2 separate regions of the Homo sapiens genome follow, and region 2 is linked to region 1. The links are contacts of gene promoters, found by promoter capture Hi-C in blood cells and fetal thymus (Javierre and others, 2016). All regions are on one chromosome and are shown on one strand. The core of a region is centred on a gene start or on the middle of the fragment in contact, and the rest is flanking DNA. Distances in the headings are between cores, read along the strand shown.

Evidence for each region. Contacts are between HindIII fragments. The CHiCAGO score rates a contact against its expected background, and 5 or more counts as called.
Region 2: a contact is called between a fragment that was not itself captured here and the fragment with the promoter of FAM169A in region 1, in 1 of 17 cell types (naive CD8 T cells). The highest score is 6.2, in naive CD8 T cells.

Annotation. Positions count from the first base shown.
Region 1 is chr5:74,864,883-74,871,330 of GRCh38, reverse strand. FAM169A (family with sequence similarity 169 member A) reads left to right here and starts at 4,944. Exons shown (of 13, transcript NM_001376049.1): 1 at 4,944-5,166. It overlaps FAM169A-AS1 (FAM169A antisense RNA 1), which reads right to left and starts at 5,438. Exons shown (of 1, transcript NR_134288.1): 1 at 4,056-5,438. RefSeq lists silencers at 5,008-5,257, 5,328-5,497. The HindIII fragment of the contact is 5,081 bases long and covers 3,819-6,448 here.
Region 2 is chr5:75,344,798-75,350,741 of GRCh38, reverse strand. HMGCR (3-hydroxy-3-methylglutaryl-CoA reductase) reads right to left here. Exons shown (of 20, transcript NM_000859.3): 5 at 5,084-5,168; 6 at 3,433-3,538; 7 at 594-700; 8 at 368-484. Among named protein-coding and RNA genes, the nearest start is that of HMGCR, 11 kb to the right of the region's middle. The HindIII fragment of the contact is 4,089 bases long and covers 88-4,176 here.

The DNA of each region.
Region 1 (6,448 bases), core at 3,695-6,194:
AAGGATGGTAAATATATATGGTATAGTAAACATACTCTAGAAGTATTCTTTTTTTCTAGCTATATGAAAGTGACAGTGTTTAACTTTGAGAATTAGTTAGGATTGTTGGTAAGTAACAGAGAAGACTGGAGGTGAGCAGCCTGGAATTGGTGTAGCAGCCATATAACATCACCATTGTCCCAGGTTCCCGTCTCTTGGCTCTAGCATGTTAATACATGGATTTCATTCTCATGATCAGCTCATGGTTCCAAGATGGCTGCTCTGCTCCCAGACCTAAGTCTTCCTTCCAAACAGGAAGAAGGAAGAAGTACAAATGTTTGACAAAAGATAAAGGTATATGCCGATTGAGTCCACCCTCTTTTATCAGAAAATAAAAGCTTTCTTGGAAGACACATCTAATAATCTTCTGCTTACAACTCGTTGGCCAAAATGACCATATGGCTATCCCAGCTACTAGAGGAGTCTGAGGGAGGAAAACAGTTTTAGTGGGGCACATTGCCACCATGAACAAAATTGGGTTTGTCCTAAAGAAAGAAGAGAATGGATATTAATTAAGCAACTTGCAGTACCTACCATGGATGTAAATATGTATGTGATTTTTCATTAACAATATGAAAAACTGTACATTTTATTTCTTTTAAACCTAAACTAAACTTACCAAATTCTCTGTCCTTCTACCACATATTAAAGCAAATCAAGCAGCAAGACAAATGCAACTGGGCTTCTCAAACTTATTTCTCTTTTCTTCAGGTTCTTTTCTCCCCCCAGGGCACAGTATCACTCAGGAATTTGAAATCTGCAGTTATAGTAGTGTTTGACCAATAAAACTCAGTCAAAACACTGCTTTTAATTCTGAAAGCATTCCTGTGACATGTTTTCTTACATACCAAAGGAAGAAATCAAGCATTCTAGGATAGCTGTCCTTTTTCGTCTTTTAGTGCCTGCAGGTAAGATTGTCTTTCTACATTGCCATGGCTGATATTATTAGCTAACTAGTTAGCTGACTGGCTAATAGTTTCAATCTAGAAATCCCTGGGCTACCTCAGTTATTAAAATGTTCTCCTGTGGCTCACGCTTGTAATCCCAGCACTTTGGGAGGCCAAGGCGGGTGGATCACAAGGTCAGGAGTTCGAGACCAGCCTGACCAACATGGTGAAACACCATCTCTACTAAAAATACAAAAAATTAACCGGGCATAGTGGTGCGTGCCTGCAATCCCAGCTACTCAGGAGGCTGAGGCAGGAGAATTGCTTGAACCTAAGAGGCGGAGATTGCAGTGAGCAGAGATCACACCACTGCACTCTAGCCTGGGCGTCACAGTGAGACTCAGTCTCAAAAAAAAAAAAATCCCTGTGATTTTATGTATTTAAAACATATGATGGATTCTAAATCTACCCATTTATGCCGAGACCAGCTCAGCTGGGGAGACCCTGGCCCAGGGGCGCTAGAGGAATTAAAGACACACACAGAAATACAGAGGTGTGGAGTGGTAAATCAGGGGTCTTACAGCCTTCAGAGCTGAGAGCCTCAAACAGAGATTTACCCACATATTTATTGACAGCAAGCCAGTGATAAGCATTGTTTCTATAGATTATAGATTAACTAAAAGTATTCCTTACAGGAAACAAGGGATGGGCTGAAATAAAGGGATGGGCTCTGGCTAGTTATCTGTAGCAGGGGCATGTCCAGGCACAGGTCGCTCATGCTATCGTTTGTGGTTTAAGAACGCCTTTAAGCGGTTTTCCGCCCTGGGTGGGCCAGGTGTTCCTTGCCCTCATTCTGGTAAACCCACAACCTTCCAGCGTGGGCGTCACGGCCATCACGAACATGTCACAGTGGTGCAAAGATTTTGTTTATGGCCAGTTTTGGGGCCAGTTGATGGCGAGATTTTGGGGGGGCCTGTTCCCAACATATTTATGTCTTATTGGAGTGTCAAAGATGATGATAAATCTTTCTAAGGAAATGTGTCTTTTCCACGCGCTAAATAAACAGAATGAAAACTTGTAATTATGCCCTGGAACTGGGGGACGGGACTTGGAGAGCAATTACACTTAAATGATGTAAAAATGAAAAATGTGTTTTTCAAAAACTAACAGATTATAAAATTTTGCTTAGTATATACCAGAGGAAGTTTTTACAAGTTTTCTTTCTAACTTGTAAACTTGTAACTAGTTTTAATTCTTCCTTCCTGTCTGGGAAAATACTAGATCTAAGAAATTATTTAAACTTGAAAGTATAGGACATTTAGTATGTTTTAGGGCTTCAAAAGCAAAATCTATCCATATGGTATAGGATTTTGTGCACATTTAAGGCAGTATGGAATTCTGGTTAAGGGAGTGTGCTCTTGAGCCAACATGCTAGGATTACTATCTGTGTGACCATGGGCAAATTGCTTAGTTTCTCTGTGTGCCTCAAGACTCCTCTTAGGTAAACTGGGGGTAACAGTGTATACCTGCAAGGATGGTAAGAGGATTAAGTGAATTAATTTCCATAAAGAAGTCTGTAGAGTGCCTGGCAATTTGTTAGCTGTCAAAAACATCAGTTATGATTTTAGCTATTAAGAATTCCTCTTCCCCAGTGCAACTAAAGAGCTCTTTTCTGGGTCATGTGTATTAGTAACCTCCAAAATCCAGGGTTGTGGCAAGCTTCTTTTACTTAAGATGGTTCCACTCCTCTTTAAACATAGAGGAAAAATACAATCAGAACGAACTCTTAACATGTTTCCTTTGCTAATAACAAAGTAATAATTAAAGCAAGCATTGCAAAAACAAAAACCAAAGCAATAATCCTTTTACTCTAAAAACGGTTCAGAAAAAAGCCTCAAAGCATATTTCAAAATATTGTGGTAACAATTTTCAGCATATACTAATCTGACAAAGGCTCATGTTTTTAGTTGTTGTTCTTTGCCCACTAAGATAAGCAAAATTTATCTCAGCCAAAGAGGGAAGTCAATGGTGATTTAAAAAGAAAAAACCAAAAACTCTCAAAAATAGTGTCATTTGCAAGTAGGGAAAAGAGAATCAGGCCTGGCGCAGTGGCTCACGCCTGTAATCCCAGCACTTTGGGAGGCCGAGGCGGGCGGATCGCTTGAGCTCAGAAGTTCAGGACCAGCCTGGGCAGCATGGCGAAACTCCGTCTCTACAAAAATTAGCGAGGTGCGTTGGTGTGCACCTCTGTCCCAGCTCTTCCGGAGGCTGACGCCGGAGAATCGCTTGAGCTTGGGAGGCAGAGGTTGCAGTGAGTCGAGATCGCGCCATTGCATTCCAGCCTGCCTAGGCTGTGGGAGTGAAACCCTGTCTCAAAAAAAAAAAAAAAAAAAAAAAAAAAAATTGGACCTTTTCTTTTATAGGTCTGGGTGAATGTAGTTCTGTCTCCTACCAGAATAGCCAGACATCTGGGAGCCAGGCCTCCCTGACCCAGGCACAAATACCCGCATACTTCTAAAACAATAGCTAAGAGTCAATCACACCCAGGCATTTCAAATATTATCAACAAGTTGTATTGGTTAGCTTTACACTAAGGCCTGAGGCTTCAACATCTGTAGGGCATAGTCTGGTAGCCAAAGCTTCCCCAAATGGCAATTGTTTGGGATTACCCTGGGGACTCCTACTTACACATAGCTCTAGAAATGTAAATACAAGTCATATAATTTCATTCATCACTGGCTATGGGTAGAACCCAACTACCCAAAATTCCTGCTCTATTAAATCTAATTCATTAAGTTTCATTAAAATGGTAAATGATGTGTAATAGTAAAGATTTTGGCTAATTAAATATTATACAAATGAAACAATAGATTCTTATATGGCAGAAAAGCTTTTTTTAAAAATCAGGGTCAAATATATCTATATCAACAAGCATTCTTTGAAGTATTTTTTGATCTTGCTAATTTTGCTAATCATTAGTAAATTCGTGAAAGTTGGTATTGTGATTGCTAAATATTTCCCAGGAATGAAAGAAGCAATTTTCAACTTTTCTGGATGAGCTGAACATAATACTACGGTTCTTGGATGATGAGTAAAAGAAAGTCTTGACATTAATACTTAGATACAATATTGTTTCTCAATACAGTTATTAAATATATTTAGACTACAATACGCATTACCTTAAAGACAATTTATCATGTTTTAAATGCTGGAGGGCTAATTTTCAGTAGGAGTGTGTAATTAGCAAAGGCGCCAGAGGCCATAAGACGGTAGAATAGAGCTGGGAGAGGCACGGGAGGAAAGCCGGATGGAACCCTGTTGTCTTTCTGGGTCAGGGTTATTCTGTACCGGTTAAACGGTGAAAGAGAAAAGGTCAGCGCAGGAATGTGGTATTTCCCTGACATCTCCAGATGAAAGTCCGGGCTCTAGGACTTCTGTAGACTGTGAAAGCAGCCCACGATTCTAACTTGCATGCACCTAAGTGGCAGTAGGTTTAGGATGAAAGTGGTGGGGCGGAGGCCGGCGGTCCTCGCCCGTGCCCTCTGCACCCCTGTCCCGAGGCCGGGATGGCCGCGCCCACTCTGGGTAAATTTCAGGAGGGCCTACGCGGGGCTGGAGAACTCCACCGGGCTATGCGAACAGAATCCTGCGAAGGTCGGCATTAAAGGAATACGCAAAATCAGCGTTGCAGCCCCCGCGGCTTAACCGCATCTATTTTTATATCTAAGCCAAGGTCACTCTTTAATACCAGGCCATTGCCCTGAGCTGGGCGTCGCGCTGCCGGGTGACGGCGGCCGGGGCGGAGAGAGGGGGCGCGGGTGGCGAGGCGGGGGCCGCGTGACGCCCCCGGGCTGGCCAAGCCCGCACCTGCCGGGCCGGCGCCTGAAAGCCGGGGCTGGAGGGAGGCAGGGCGGCGTCCCAGGCTCCGAGGAGGGGCCGCTCCGCGCTGGCGGGCGGGGGGATTCGCGGTGGGCGCGGGCGCGGAGCGGAAGCGAAGGCTGGAGGCGCTGCGGCGCTAGTGCGTCACGTCGTCGGAGGGCACGGTGGGCCGCGGCCGACCCGCGACGAGGAGCCGGGCGTCCGGGGCGAGCGGGAGGCAGCCGCACTCGCCCTGGCAGCCGCGAGCTGTGCGGCCTGGGACCGGCCGGAGGTCGCCAGCGAGCAGCCGCCGGCTCCATTCATTCGCGCGGCTCCGCCTCCTTTCCCGGGCTCTTCCAGCGGCTCCCGGGGCGCGTCTGAGGTGAGTGCGCTCCCTCTCCCCGGCGCGGACCGCTGGGTGAGGCCGAGACGGCCGCGCCGGGCCCCGCGCCCCCGCCAGCACCAGACCCGCGGACACCGAGCGGCGACGCGGGCCACCGGCTGTGGGCGGCCCCTGCGGGCTGGGCCTGGCGCAGACCAGTGCGGGCCGCCTGGACCCGGGGCTCGCGTCCAGCTGGCGGCGGTCTGCGGGGATCCCGTAGGGCGTGTGGCGCCCCCAGGTGCGCCGGCCTCCGCCTCGGCGCCACCATTTTGTGTGAGGGAATGCCCGTCTTCGCTCGCCTCCGCCGCGGGCCGGTTCGCAGCTGCGGCTTGCCGCCCCCTCCCCTCGCCCTCTCCCCACCTGGATGCTTGGCGTGCGAGCTGATTGCTTTGGCTTGGGGAGACGCGGACTCGGGGAGGTGTGGAACTTCAGCGTTTAGACTCGGTTCACCCGACCAGGTGGCCTCCAGAGATGCTCTGACCGCCTTCCTTTACCTGTAACTACTTTTGGAACAGATATTGTATGATTCTCCCTCCTCTGGAATGCTGGTCGTTGCAGTTTTGTCCTAATTGTGTTCTCAGCTCTCCATTATGCCATTTTTCAAGAGGCCTGTGCCTCAGGAGGTGAAGCCTTGAACCCTGGGTGGTTTATGGCTCGGGGGTCTGGATTACACTGACTCCCATGACTGTCCTTGGGGAGAAAGGATGAAGCATCTCACTGGCTTTTCAGCGTCTGGGAAGCGGCGTGGGTATCGTATCGGGTGGATTCGAAGATAACCACCTGATGCAGGTCACCTTCCCCCGCTGGGAGAGCCGTTCCTAACGTAAATTAAAACGTGTGTACGGGTTTTTGGGGGATTGGGACCGGAGGGACATATTTCTAAAAAATTTCCAGAAGGGAAAGTTTTCATTGTGATTCTCACAGAACTGTGACACAATTTGTCATTTTCAAGGTTCCTGAGAATTTGGGAATTCTTTTAATTCGTTGGCTTCTTGCGAATTACTACTTACGAACTGAGCAGATTATACCCAAGCCATTTATATTTTGTCATTGCATCACAGACAGGGATTACAATCGGGAGTGCTGGCTGTTGCATAATGCACACATTTGGGCCCTGGAGGGAATTCACCGAAGTGGATCTGGGTTTGGTGTGCCATGCGTTTTTATTTTTTACACAGGATGTACAGATGATCTTTGCAAACTACGTCCCTTATCGTGCTATAAAGTGTTTACAAGAGGAAAGATTTTTATTGACTAGTATGGACCAGACTAAAATTTTTAG
Region 2 (5,944 bases), core at 883-3,382, 480 kb before region 1:
CTTAAATTTCTTATCCCTAGCAACTGGACAGCCAGACATTATCTCTCATAGCTTCCCCTTACCATGAAAAAAAAAAAGCCCCAAGCTTGCTATGCAACTAACTAAAGTAGTGACCCCACTGAACTACTGAAAACACCCCAAAGAACAGGCTTTCAACGAGAGATAAGGTGGGGGAACTTAAAAAGTCTGTTTAGGAGAGAGGGGCTAATAAAGACCAGGAGCCTCAAAGAAATGAACACATTAAGAAAAAAAGGAAGAAGGGGGTGCAATATCATTGAATGGGCCAAAATTGTAGAAAAAAAGAAATCTTAAAAATAATGAGATTGGAACTGAGGATACTAAAAGAAGAAGAAAACCATGTCATTACCATAATCATCTTGACCCTCTGAGTTACAGGATTCGGCTTATTTTCTTCTTCTTCTAAAACTCGGGCAAAATGGCTGAGCTGCCAAATTGGACGACCCTCGCGGCTTTCCCGAGAAAGCTACAAATTAAGTCAGTGTGACATTAGAAGGTATTGATTCTGTTTAGGTAAACTGTGTAAGCAGAAATCTTACTCTTCTACTAGTGCCATATGTAAGAATTGGTCTTACCTCTAATACCAAGGACACACAAGCTGGGAAGAAAGTCATGAACACGAAGTAGTTGGCAAGAACTGACATGCAGCCAAAGCAGCACATAATTTCAAGCTGACGTACCCCTGGTTAGAGAAAAATTAAAGATACAACTAGTAAAGTCTACGTTATTTTTTATGCTGCATATATCACAAGGATATATTTGTCTTCCTGCAGGTGGACAAAACATGAAAATATTAGTACATTAAGCTCCTTGCCACTTACTGGAAATAGAATTAGCAACTTAGAGGTGATGCCAAGCCTTAGGAAACAGCAGGAATAACAACAGAACTCTAAGTCCCTCAAGAGCAAAGCTCTTGCCTTCTCTCATGTCCCCATATCACAATGCCAGGCAGAATGGTAGTGTTTAATACACAATTGATAAAACATATGTGTTTCCAATTCCTTTTTGTCAAGCAGTAGTGCCTTATTATTAAATAAGGAGAGGACAGGCTACTCTAACAGAGCAAAACCCCAGTGACACTATTGATCTAATCCCACTTGTTAGGAGAAAAGCAATTTGCCAATTAACCAAGGATTTTTTATATAAGTAGAATATCCTGCCAGTTATGCCAGTCCTGATATAAGGTCAAAATAATATTTTTTGTGTACCAACAAACTCTAATTTCAATATAACCTCTATGATGCCTACTGAAGTTCTTATAATTTTGGTTATTTCATTGATCTGTTTGGAAAATGATATAATACAAAATGCCAACTTAAGACTAAAAATTAACAAACATATTGTACTACAACTGTTTAAGGTATCATTTGGTGATCTCAAATAGAAAACAGAATTATAGAGGCTAGAAGAGACCTTAGATGACCACCAAATCCTTCTCCCTCACTTTACAAATAAACTTGAGTATAATATAAAACATATTTCTGATGTCGCTCAAACATAACAATGCTTTGAAACACAAATTTGAATTGTCCTATAAAAACTGCTCACAAAAACTCAAAGTTTTATTTTATTACCTACATTTTAAGATATAATTTGACTGACTAGAACAAGCATATATTGTATTTTTTTAATTCCCAATGCTTTGAAACATAAATTTAAATTGTCCTATAAAAACTGCTCACAAAAACTCAAAGTTGTATTTTATTACCTAAATTTTAAGATATCATTTGACTGACTAGAACAAGCATATATTGTATTTTTTTAATTCCACGATTACCCTCAAATGTGGAAATTCAAGAGACTACAAAATCACAATAACAAAAGCATTATAAATCAAACTACATTTTAAATAGTAGCTGAATATAATCTTTTCAAACTTGAGGCCATTAAAACCATACTTGACCAATGCTTTCATGACTTGACTATCTACTATTTCTCTCTGCACAATATTCACTCATGTTGTTGCCATATGCTCTCCAGGCATTCTTCCTTACTGTGTCCCCAGATAAGTCTCTCTACACACAAAGAAACAGCACCAATCCACAGACATCCAAGAAGCTAAGACTTTCTTCTTTTTGTACTGGCTTTTTCAAAGGGTTACTTCCAAGTTAATATGTGTTAAATCTGTCCTTTTTTACCGTAACCCAAATCTCTAATTATACCATTTCTGTATAGCTGTAAATGTCTCACTGTCTTCTCCAACCACAAATCTAATCACTTCCTTTGTCTACTTCTCTGACCATATCATGACAAAACTCATCGCCCAGCTGCTTTCCACATCATTATTATTTCAATGAATAATCCCATGGTTTCATGGCCCAACTATTACTTCCTGGCGAATCCCCTTCTCATATATTCTTTTGCTTGAATAAAATCAAACAAGTACATTTTCACCTGATCAACATTTTTTCTTGAGTGTAGTGGTGGTTACAAGACTATGTCATTGTCAAAACTCATAAAATTGTACTCCCAAAAGTAAATTTTAAAGTAAGTAAATTTTTAAAATTAAAAAATATTTTATTTGCTAAATAAAATCTTTGTTGAATAAAATAAATAAATAATAATTTGCTCTCAGAAAGTTAGAAGCAATATTACATTTTTAATATACTATCTACTGAAGAGGCCTAAACTAATGACAATAATTTACCCCCTTAAAAGTTAGATAATTTACTTCTGAAAGAATGAGGCATCTCATTGAGGGCTCTAAGGTACCAGGAAATACACAGTAGTTAACCAAGTATGGTCTTTATAAGAAAGCCATAAAATATAATCCTAATGATTAGGAGACCTTCACACAGCGTAATATATTCCTTCTGGCAAATTTCCATGCCAGTCTGTAATTTTTATTCTACATAATGAAGTCCTATGTTTGATATTAATATCTAATTCTCTACTATCCAATTAAGAATGAAGAAACATGTGTTGAAGCTAATGCTGGGTACTTGCTGAGATGTACTGCTTACTATCGGATTAAATATTTCCAATCACCTTATTAGGTGAATCTTACTCAGATCTGTCCAATTCCTGACTCTTTTCTCCCTACATGATAATTAAAACACAAAGAACCAAGTCACCAATTGAGTCTAAGTAACAGCAGGGGCTGGAAAGTGTTTTCCAGACCAACCTTGGAATGCAATGTTGGTTAAAAAAACAAACAAAAGAAATCAAATGAATAAAAATATCACAAAGTGGAACACAAAGAGAGGATGGCAGGAGTGAAAAATAAATCAGTAACCTGCTGCTAAGTTTCCACCAAAGCAAACAGGCCAGATATACCCACACACTAATATAATAAAAAATTTTAAGAGTAATTTAAAAGTCAGAATTTAACAATAAATAATACAAATCCAAGATGTTCTTTTTCCTCTTTAGCGACATACCTATTTTAAAATATGGCAAAAATTGCTTACAAACCTGACATGGTACCAACTCCAATCACAAGACATTCAACAAGAGCATCGAGGGTAAACGTAGGACCTAAAATTGCCATTCCACGAGCAATATTTTCCCTTACTTCATCCTAAAACAGATCAAACATATCAATGAAGGCAAGGGACAGAACAACTTTTTTAAATGTTAGAGCATCCTATGGCTTATATTAATATCAAATTACTATTCAAAGAGTAAAATATACAATATGATAAAACTAACAGGTATTCAAGATACAAAGTATGATTGTAATATAAAGGATTTTAAAAAATTTTTTTTTGAGATGTAGTCTCACTTTGTTTCCCAGGCTGGAGTGCAATGTGCAATGGTGTGATCTTGGTTCACTGCAACCTCTGCCTCCTGGGTTCAAGCAATTCTCCTGCCTCAGCCTCCCGAGTAGCTGGGATTACAGGCACCCGCCACCATGCCCAGCTAATTTTTGTATTTTTAGTAGAGACTGGGTTTCACCAGGTTGGCCAGGCTGGTCTGGAGCTCCTGACCTCAGGTGATCTGCCCACCTCGGCCTCCCGAAGTGCTGGAATTACAGGTGTGAGCCACTGCGCCCAGCCAAATTTTTAAAAAAGAACATATAGTGCCCTGATTCCCTTTCCACTGAATAAGATATTTGTTAGGAATATTCCTTTGAGGTAGTGCATTAACTCTGTCATTTAAATCACACATAATTAAATCCTACAACATTCTATATTTTTACCTACCATGACAGAAGCTTAGTTGCAAATTTTATGAGATCATATTAGTATTAATAAAACCAAACTTATTTCCTTGTTAATATGTTCAAATGATCACACACTTTCATCAACAAATAATCAGGGCAGAATTGTGTGCTATTTTATACTCAAGATACTCTGATATAATATTGTTAAAATGGTTAGGTTCTTCAAAGTGACTAATGAACATTAAGATGAAACTTAAAATAGGAAATAATGCCAGTGTTAATTTAAGGGGTTTAAAAATAAATCTGGCCAGGTGCAGTGGCTCACACCTATAATCCCACCACTTTGGGAGGCTGAGGCGGGTGGATCACTTGAGGTCAGAAATTAAAGACCAGTCTGGCCAACATGGCAAAACTCCGTCTCTACTGAAAACACAAAAATTAGCCGGGGATGGTGGTGCACATGTGTAATCCCAGCTACTCAGGTGGCTGAGGCAGAAGAATCCCTCGAAACCAGGAGGCGAAGGTTGTGGTGAGCCAAGATCTCGCCACTGCACTCCAGCCTGGGTGACAGAGTGAGACTACATCTCAAATCAATCAATCAATCAATCTACCCTGGGTTTCTCTTCCATTAGATCTTGTTCTGCTCTCTGATGTGTTTCACTAGGAAAATACTCTTATTTACCCAAAAATTATTATTACCATAAGTTCTGAAAACTTTCAAAAAGAAAAATGGGGGCAATTCCAAATTCCAGTAGCTACAGAATCATAATTGAGTTGTTAGATACAGGGGACTGTTCCTGGGGCACTTATGGAGACCAGTCTTGGGACTTGAGAATTAAACTTAAAACTTTGGGCAATTCTTAAATCTTGTGCTATGAAGAAACGCTATTAATCCTTCCTATTAATGTAAACTGAAAAAAGGAATACTATTCACATTCCTATCTTATAAATAATACTTACCTGTGAGTTGGAACTGAGGGCAAACTTTGCTAATGTGCTTGCTCTGGAAAGGTCAATCAAAAGTAGGAAAAAGGGCAAAGCTTCACTGGAAAAGAACAAAATGATCAGATAAATTTAACGGGAAAAAGTATGATTTTAAAAAAATTCTTTTTAGAACAAAACCTTTCCCCCTCCATACTGTATGATCCTGTAGTATGTGTACCTTTCTGCAGACAAAAAAGTATACCCTATATTTCTTTGGCATCCTCAAAGCTAAACATAGTAGTTGCTCAAAATATTTGTTAAAAATATTTTTAATGTTAAAATGTAAGTATATTTACATTTAAACACCTTTTGATAATTTTGTATCAAAGTATCATCCTTAGTAAAAAATATCTCCTTGGATTACCATTAGGGAAAAAAAGTGGAATATATAAAAATTTTCATTGATCACTACCTGTGGAAGGATAAACTAAACAAACTTTCTGTAAACTAAATTGGCAATAATAGCACTAAAAAGCTCTTAAAAAAAAAAAAGCAAAGCTCTAAAAAAAGCAAAACCACTGTCTCACTTCTAGGAATGTATCTTAAGAAAATGATTACAAATATGAACAAAAATTTCGTTACAAAGACATTCATCACAGTGTTGTTATTAATAAAAAAAATTACATAACCTAACAGTCCAACATTAGATGATTAATAAACTACAAGACGTTTAGACAGAAGAGAATACATATAGCCATTACAAACAATTTAGTTTAACATTAAGGACATGGAGGCCGGGCACAGTGGCTCACGCCTATAATCCCAGCACTTTGGGAGGCCAAGGCAGGCGGATCACTTGAGGTCAGGAGTTTGACACCAGCCTGACCAACATGGCGA